Linked DNA regions of Homo sapiens: region 1 is linked to region 2. The links are contacts of gene promoters, found by promoter capture Hi-C in blood cells and fetal thymus (Javierre and others, 2016). All regions are on one chromosome and are shown on one strand. The core of a region is centred on a gene start or on the middle of the fragment in contact, and the rest is flanking DNA. Distances in the headings are between cores, read along the strand shown. Region 1 holds the start of ECT2 (epithelial cell transforming 2). Region 2 holds the start of SKIL (SKI like proto-oncogene).

What was found. Contacts are between HindIII fragments. The CHiCAGO score rates a contact against its expected background, and 5 or more counts as called.
Region 1: a fragment that was not itself captured here is called in contact with the fragment with the promoter of SKIL in region 2 in 1 of 17 cell types (fetal thymus); the score reaches 5.2 in fetal thymus.

Annotation. Positions count from the first base shown.
Region 1 is chr3:172,747,829-172,752,304 of GRCh38, reverse strand. ECT2 (epithelial cell transforming 2) reads right to left here and starts at 1,579. Exons shown (of 25, transcript NM_001258315.2): 1 at 1,448-1,579. RefSeq lists a silencer at 1,164-1,233 and enhancers at 1,344-1,603, 1,624-1,673, 1,774-2,043. The HindIII fragment of the contact is 750 bases long and covers 2,240-2,989 here.
Region 2 is chr3:170,355,065-170,359,461 of GRCh38, reverse strand. SKIL (SKI like proto-oncogene) reads right to left here and starts at 1,747. Exons shown (of 7, transcript NM_005414.5): 1 at 1,699-1,747. RefSeq lists silencers at 1,165-1,234, 1,325-1,454, 1,505-1,734, 1,895-2,794 and an enhancer at 3,075-3,174. The HindIII fragment of the contact is 9,771 bases long and covers 199-4,397 here.

The sequences.
Region 1 (4,476 bases), core at 1,365-3,864, 2.4 Mb before region 2:
TACAAAAATTAGCTGGGCTTGGTGGCAGGCACCTGTAATCCCAGCTACTCAGGAGGCTGAGGCAGGAGAATCGCTTGAACCCGGGAGGCAGAGGTTGCAGTGAGCCGAGATCGTGCCACTGCACTCCAGTCTAGGTAACAAGAGGTAGACTCCGTCTAAAAAAAAAAAAAAAACTTCTTGAAAATATTTACATTTTTCTCCTATGCCTCCCTCTTTAAGAGGGAGCACAGCAAATGATCAAAAGCAGATGATTAATAAAAGGGAGGGAGCATAGCAGATGATCGAAAGCAGATGATTAATAATTAAAATTGCCCCTGATGATACTGTATATGATCAATTTATTGCCAAAACAGCTTCAAAATGTATAGAGAAAAAGAGATGCACTACGGTAACTTGATGACATAACTAACATCCAACAGTCAGATTAGAAATGGAAATATATTAATCACTTTTTTTCAAATTACTGTATTCCAGAAGCCTTTAAAATAAGCACAATAGGATCAGTGTTCATAAACCTACACAGCTTCTCACCCAAGAACAGACCCAAGGAGCTTCTAACTAAACACACTATAACACATGCCCCCTTTTATCCCAGAGATAAAATTTGCCATGTAAACAAACATTCAAGTTTCCTTTTACTTAAATACTTTTTAGGCAATCATCTTCCAAGGTGAAGGACTAAAATGCAATCCAAGATATAATGGTGGTGTTATTAACAATAACATTACTATTAACAACTGACATTTACTTAACGCTTAATACGTGGCAGACATTGTCCTAAACCTTTTAATCTCTGCAGTAATCCTAAGAGGCAGGTACTATTATTATTTTCAATGTATGGATGAAGAAACGTAGGAACAGAGAGGTTAAGCAACTTCCCCTAAGTCAAACTGTTAGTAAGGGGTAAAAGAGGTATTCAAAGCCCGGCTAAATCCAGAGGCTGCGCCTTTAACCACTAAGCCGGACACATCTGTGCCGGGTGGCTGGGGAGGACGAGGGGCGGATGGCCTGGATTTATCTTGCAAAAACGAAAAATTAAACTTCCCGCAAAGAAGCCAGGATGAATCCTAGAATAAAACCACGGCGCACTCTGAGATAAGCCCCCAAAGGCTGCAAGTGCCGGCCCCCAAAGCCACAGGGCTGCGCGGCTTGCCAAAATCCCTTTCCCAACTCCCTCCCTTCACCCACACTCTTCTGTCCAAAAGAGCCAACAGGTGAGGGCGAAGATGCCCAGCAATACTGGGGGCTTCGGTCTCCCACTCCGCGTCAGGGCCCGGCTGCTGGGGGTGGGGTGCGGCGAGGGAGTTCCCGGATCCGGGAAGCCTGAGCTGGGGCGCTCCGGAATTCGCGGTCACTAGGGGCGGGGACGTCGACCGCAGGCAAAAGAGCCCTTGGCTCTGGAGCCGCTCGCCCACTTGCACCTCTCTCACTCACACAGAGTCCTTACCACTCTCAAAAAAGCCCTAGGAGTTCCACCTCTTCAAACGCCGACTCCTCTCACAAATACCGCCATTCCTCGCCGGCGGCCGCCACAACCGATTCAAAAACTAAGCTGCTCTCTCTAAGAGCCATGCCGATTGGCGCGTGATGTCAACCTCTTTCCCATAGGCAGGAGTCTCCAGAGGGGCGGTGATTGGTCGACGCTCTCCAAGTCCCGGCAGGCGCCGCTTGATTGGTTGTGCGTGTGTTTCAAATAAGCCCAACGACTCGGGCGTCGGGACGCCAGGAGTTTGCAGAGAAGTGCCCGGATGTGGCCAGGAGGTGGCGGTGGTGGCTCCTGAGGTCTTAAAGGAGTAGCAGGTGTTTCTGTGACTACCGCATATTTACTCAGTAAACATCCTACTTCCTGAGGAAAGTTTGGGTGGATTCTCCTCGGCCCCACCCAGCTTTTTTTTTTTTTTAAACGATACCAAATCTTTTAAGCTTAAATCAGTGCCGCCAGAGATAAATGTTTCCCTGCTGCTTGCTGTGAGCTGTAGGATTTTCCTATCGGGATGCTTTCTGCTTTAGGAATGTATTTAAATTTGAGTTAAGGGATTTTGACTTTGATGGTTGTATTGGCGTGTGGCAGGGCCAAGGACCGGTCCTAGAACTCGGACTCCCCAGGTGGACTTCAAATCAGCAGCCGCTTATTTAAATGCTATTATTTAAAGCACTGCGCTCCCATCTAGGGAGTATCGCGGGTTAGAATCAATTCTTAGAAATTAGAAAAATTCTCGGATTTTTTTAAAGATAAGCTTGAATTTGATAAAAATATGCCACGAGATTCTAGAATTTTTGGAGCCAAATTGCTTCGTCTTTGCCCCCCTCCGCCCACTAAGAACTTGTACTTTCCCCTAAAGTCTAGTCAAGAATGTATCAAGTTTTTCCTGTGATTAGCGTTGCTATTATGAAAATAATTTCTTTATTTTCTAAATATGATACCATATAACACAATCTCTTAAGAAAAATACACCCCCACCAGGTGGGTTTTCCATAGTTCCCACCTGAAGGCTAATATAAATAGAAGAAGAAAGGGGAATCAGATGCCAGAACCTAAATACCAATAAGAAGAGGCAAACGTGTACTTTGGGATGGAACACTTGTGAGCATCTCAAGCAGGTTGTGGGGACTTAACAATTTTTTCTAATTTTGTCAGGCAATCTTAGAATGCCTGAAAAGTTTATAATGCTGTCCACAAAATGAATGAAGCAATCTGGTAATTATTGGTTTCCCTGCTTGTCAGTATTTAAGTCTGACCTTCATTAAAATGCTGTGATAACTGTTACGGCAGAAAAAAAGAAAAACAGTAATTGAAATTTCCATTTGGAATGTGCTTGCGTATTTGGAAGTCGGGTGTGCCCAGCATTCCAAAAACGTTCATCACTGAAAACATATTAAGCTATTGTGGGAAGCAGCCCTACTTCCTTTGTGCACCGCTTTCTGCTCAACAGACTTTCCAAAGCTAATGATTAACTGTGTATGGTATCATTGCCATGAATTTTAAGCTTCCCTAACAAAAGCTGTACTTGATTTCTTTTAAGGGATGTGTGGCAGTTAGATTAACAAATAAACGGGTAATACAACCTTTTTCACTCTCTTAGGTCTTCATTTACTCAGCAAATATTTACTAATTTTAAGACAGCCATTGTGCTTGTTGGGGTTATAAAGATGAATAAGGCATAGAAAACTGCCTGTCTGGACCACACAATCTGGTGAGGGAAATTAGCAGATAAACAGATAATTACAGTATAAGGGAGAGAAGAAAGAGAATGAACATACTGATACTTTACTATGCACTTTATACCTTATTTAATCCTTAAAACAACCCACAAGTAGGTATCATAGTCCCATGATACCATGAAACTGTAGGAAAGGTTTAAGTAACTTACCCAGTGTCTCCTAATAAATATTTTAGCCCGCATTAGAACCCAGAAATAATAGATGAGTGTAAATAAAGTCTAGTATAGATCTGTCTGCAGGCTCAAAGAAAGCAATGTGGAGAGGAGTATTTCAGATAATCGTGTGCATAGGTGATCATATGCCACTTAATTGCACCTAGCAGAGGGCTGGTGTCTGGTAAAGTAAAACATGATCCCTCATCTTCAGGTATTTTCAAAAAGCTAGTACTGCAAAGGCAAATGTTACACATTGCTCTCTAATAAACACAGGAATCTTCACATGTAGGTACCAAATAAATATTTCGAGAGTGAATGAGCTAGATCCAAGTTCATTCATAATGTTTGAGAGACTGGATGTCCTGATTAACCTAATCATAGTTTATTCATTTAATAACTATTAAGCACCCATTAGGTACTATGCTAGCACTGAGAATATAGGTGTGACAAGACAAATATGGGCCTTGTTCTCATGGCACTTCTAGCAGATAGCTGTATTTGCGGTGAAAAATTTATTGCATGCATAGGTTTTCACAGAATTCAAATACCTACAAAACAATGATACAAGTAACTTAGTCTTACTGAGTCAGAAGCTGTTTCAAGTGCTATAGTGTTTCAAGATCAGCATTATGAAAAATTTTTAAATACTATATACGGCATAGGCAATTGAACTGAATGGCATATTAACCTTGAACTTTTTTAAAAACATAAATTCTTAATATTAGCTTGTTTACGTGCACTTTAGGCTCTCATAAAAGCTCAATATATATAGGAGACAGTAAACAGTTTGGTGTGGCTGGATCATAATATACATGAAGAGGACAGTGGAAGACAACTGACATACGCTAGGTTAGGCTAGGTGTGGGGGCTCATGCCTATAATTCCAGCACTTTGGGAGACTAAGGCAGGAGGATCCCTTGAAGCCGGGAGTTCAAGACCAGCCTAGGTAGTGACTGCACTCCATCCTGGGCGATAGAGCAAGACCGCCCCTCCCCCCCACCATCCAGCCCCCATCTCAAAAAAAAATAAATGCTGGCCAGGTGCAGTGGCTCATGCCTGTAATCCCAGGCATGAGATTACATGCCTTTGGAAGGCCCAG
Region 2 (4,397 bases), core at 498-2,997:
GACACCCGGCTAATTTTTTTGTATTTTTAGTAGAAACGGGGTTTCACCATATTAGTCAGGCTGGTCTTGAACTCCTGACCTCAGGTGATCCGCCCGCCCGGGCCTCCCAAAGTGCTGGAATTACAGGCGTGAGCCACCGCACCCGGCCGAAATCAGTTTCTTAATCTTAAACTGAGTTCAGTTTACCAAGGTGAAGCTTGAGTGATTTCTTTAAATCTAACACCAGTTTACTAGAAGAACATTCATTTAAATAGGAAAGCAATTTGGAGTTGCGTAAAGCGAGCAATAATATAACATAAAAGGCCTTTCGAGTTCAGAATATGAAGACTCTTAAGCAGATCATCTCAATTAGTAGTACCGGGGCTTTCTCAGCTATGCCATTTTAAGGGAGGGAAAAAAATCCATTACTTCATCTCCTATTTAAAAACAAAACAACAGTTTCATCCAAAAAAATCAGATAGGAGTTAACATATCTACCATATGTAACTAAGTTACAATTTTAAGTGGATTAATTCAGCTAGTCCGTGTACACTATTTTTCTGGAATGACTGCAGGCAAAAATTAACTTTCTCTTAAAAAAAGGTTAGCGATTTTACTTAATGGAAGCCAAAAGCTATAGACTCCACGCCTGGGAATCTCCATCCTTCAACAAGACTAATCCGGGACAAAAAGCACAAGGCAGACAAACCTCACAAAGAATGCAAATGGAGGAAGAGGGAAAAAGAAAAGACTCTTTTTCCACTTCCTTCTTGAGAGAAAAGCCAAAAGAAATCCAATAAATAGAAATTTTTGCTTCCCAAACTCTCAGCACTTTACCTTAAAACAGACCCAAAGGATTAAGGACCAATGCCACCAACCATCGTACAGACTTTCGTCCACCACAGGAACACACCTTACTCAACACAGGCCAAGGAAGAGAGCAAGAGGCATGACCTAGAATGGGGGAGCCCCTAAAACCCTGAAGTCCTCCGCCCACTCAAAGCCACCCACCTATCTCTAACCCGGAGAGAGGGAGAACAAGGGACACGGGAAGCCTGGGGGTGGGTGTGCAAGGGGGTGGAGGGAAGTAAAGGGAGGAGTCCCCCCACCCCCACCGGCGAGCCTGGGATAACCCCAAGTGCCCTCCCAACACCGCCCCCCCGCGGGGGCCGCGGGAAGGACTGTGGAAATCCACCCCCCCGCGCACCCTCTCCCTGGGAAGTTCTCGGGTGTCACCTCAGCGCCCCTAATGCTGCACCTCCCCGCGCCAGCCCCGGGCCAGAACGAAGAGGACACCAGGGCAGTTTAGGCGCCGGGCGCGGATCCCTGCGCCGCCGGGGGCTGACGGACCGGGTCGAGACCAGGGCATCCCCGCGGAGCGCTGCTGGACTGGGGGAGGGGGGCGGTGACGGGCGTCCGGGTCTCCGGGGTCCCCGCGGCTCCCGTCAACTACAGCGCCCTGCCCTGCCGGCGCCCACCGCCTGGGGCCAACGAAGCGTGATCAGCCGTGGAACACCCGCCTAGCGACCCCCTCTGGCCCCGACCCCACCCGGGACCCGCGCATCCAAACCCCCTACTCGGGCCTCGGTGCCCGGGTAAGCTCGACGAGCTTTGTGAATTCCCCACCGCCCCTGTCGCCGCCGTCGGGCTCCTAGGAGGGTGAGCGCCTCTGGCCTCCCGCCGCCTCCGCCGCGTCGCCGCCGTAAGCCGGAGCCGCACCTGTGCCCGCCGCCGCCGCCGTCGCCGCTCGCCCGCTCCCTTCGGCTGTGCCGGCGCGGCTCCGAACCCCACACACATCGCTACACACAGCCCTCTGACGTCACCGAGTCCTCGGCCCGCCCACGTCACTGCGGAGACACACAGCTTCCCGCAGACGCCGCCGCCGTCTCCGGCCGCCCGGGGGAGAGCGAGGGCGGCGGGGAGGGGGAGGGGAAGGGAACGGAGCCAGCGGCGGCGCCGCGCGCGCGGGCCCGCCGGCGTCGTCGCCGCCGCCGCCACTTCGCGGCTCCCGGCCCCCTCGTGGACGCGCGTGCCGTCTGGCCTATTGTGGCTCCTCAGAGCGCCCCCCTGGCCCCGTCGTCTCGCGCGCGTGCCCCTCCCCCCAGGCGCGCGCCCGGCGCTTCTGGCCCCGCGCGCCGTCTGGGAAGCTGGCGCGCGGCGCTGTCTGCGGTGCACCCGGCGCAGACAGGATGTTCCCTCCCCACCCCACCCTCACCGCCGCCCTCCCTCCTTCCTTCCTCTAGTCGCCCAGCCGGCTGTCTGGGGCCACCGCCCCGCCCCCGCCCCACCCGCCGCTCTGTGGTGATGGGCCAGACGCGGGGGCGCCCTGGCCGCTCGGACGCCGCGCAGCGGGGAAGAGGGGGCAGGGCAGCCGCGCGGTGCACTGTGCGCGACCCCAGCAGCCGGCAGGGCGGAGGCAGTGCCCGCCCGGCAGAGTGCCGCCGCCCGAGGTCAGGCACGGGCGACCCTCCCCCTGCGGGGCCGCAGCTGGGCCGCCCCGCCCCGGAGGCAGCCGGGCGGCGGCCGCCCTGCAGGGCCCCCGGGGCCGGCTCTGCTCCCCGCCCCCGCGGGACCTCCCTCCTGGGCTGCCCCTCGCCCCCGCGGGGCCTCCTGCCCGAGGGCCGCCCAGCCAGCTGCCGGCGCTCCGCCCCGCCCCGGCGGCCCCGGCCTCGCCCGGGCGGCCTCCACCCAGACGCCTTCCCCTGGCTGACCTCCATCCGCCATCGGGCCGGGCGGGAGGGGTGGCCAAAGTTCCGGCAAAACCGAGAGCAAACATTTCTGTCCCTACTCCCCAGCCTCCTGCCTCCACCCCACCAGGCTGCTCTCTCGGTTCCAGAAGGGAGCTATAAATTAAAGGTTTTTACAGTGTTTACTGAGGGTGTTTTTTTGTGTGTGTGTTTTTTTGGAGAGGGACGAGACGAGGTAGGGAAGATAGGACTCAAGAGCTTTCCGGCTGTGACCCTCTGAGGCGTGTAGGGTGGTCTTCCTGGTTCCCAGGGTAGCCGATTAGCATATTGAACTCTGCAGAGCTGCTCCGTCACATTTCGAAACACCAAGAAATCCCCTTTTCTCCACCCCACCACAAGATCAGGAACTGAAATAGTCCACCGAGTAGCAGTGCACAAAATTCAGGAGACTCGAGCTTTGTCCCTTTTTTCCCCCCCATTTTCGTCCAATTTCTTCTAGTTTTACTGCTTCGGGTTGTTCCTGTGGGGGCCCACATTTGCAGTCGGCCGGCTGGAAATACTCTTGTGCTCGTACTTTTTATTTTTTTTTTCCTCACAACAGGCCTCCGAAAGGCTCACAAGCCTCTCAATCCCCACCACTCCCCGCACCCCCACCCAAGTTCCCTTCCTTAGGCCTCCACCGCCGAGCTCCCAGGTCGTGCCCCCTCTCCACCCCGCCCCCCCACCTTTTCTTCCTTCTTGACTGCCTCCTTTCCTGAACATGAATAATTCCACAGCACTTTCCATCTGTTATTGCCATAGAGACAGAAGCGTGGCAAAGATAATGATGTTCTGTGCAGAGCCAGTGGGGGAAAAACAGCATCTGCGAGTCTAGGGGGATAGATTTTCTAACTGTGAGAATATTCAGAAGGCCTAGCTGAAGATCTGATGTGAAGACTGGACAGTCCTGAAACTTGGCACCAGGTCAACTCTCAGCACCTGGCTCCTGTGTCTAGCCAGAAGTAACAATTTTTAGAAACCAACATGACTGGTTAATAAAAAAGTAATTCCAAAACTGCAATTATTAATAAATGTTTAGCAGTCATTTTACCAGCCATAAGAATAATTACTTGCTAGCATGTCCAAGGACGAAGATAAATTGGACAGTAAATAGACTTTTGAGAAATCAAACACATTAATCCGCCTCCCCGTTCTGTTGATTTGCATTCCTCAGAAATCTGTTTTTGAGAGATCTTTCATGCCTGTGATTTTAAGTGCAATGGTTTGACAAATAGTGACCGGCAAATATGACTAGAACCAATCAAATTTGAGGGCATTTATTTTTCCCTTATTGGTCAAAGTACAAAATGCATCAAATTAAAATCATTTTGTCCTTGAATTCCCAAACCTCAAAGGTACGCGTTTGAAAGCAAGTGAAACTGAACGGGGTCCATTTATACATAGATCTGAGGCAGATGGGGAGGCTCACAGGAAGGCACATTTTTGCAGGCCTACTTAAGGATTTTCAGAAGTTATCAGTAAAATTGATTGTATGTATCATACGACATTGAACACAAATGATAATGGTTCTTTATTCCAAATACAGAATTGCACAGACACAGAAAATGCAGGCCTTAGAAAAAATAAGCACTGCGAGGTAATGAATTTTGTAATTCCACAGGCTCATGGTCTTCATCAGTGTCGAAAAGTCAATTAAAGGATTGGTCAACAAATAGTTATGTAGTTATTAGG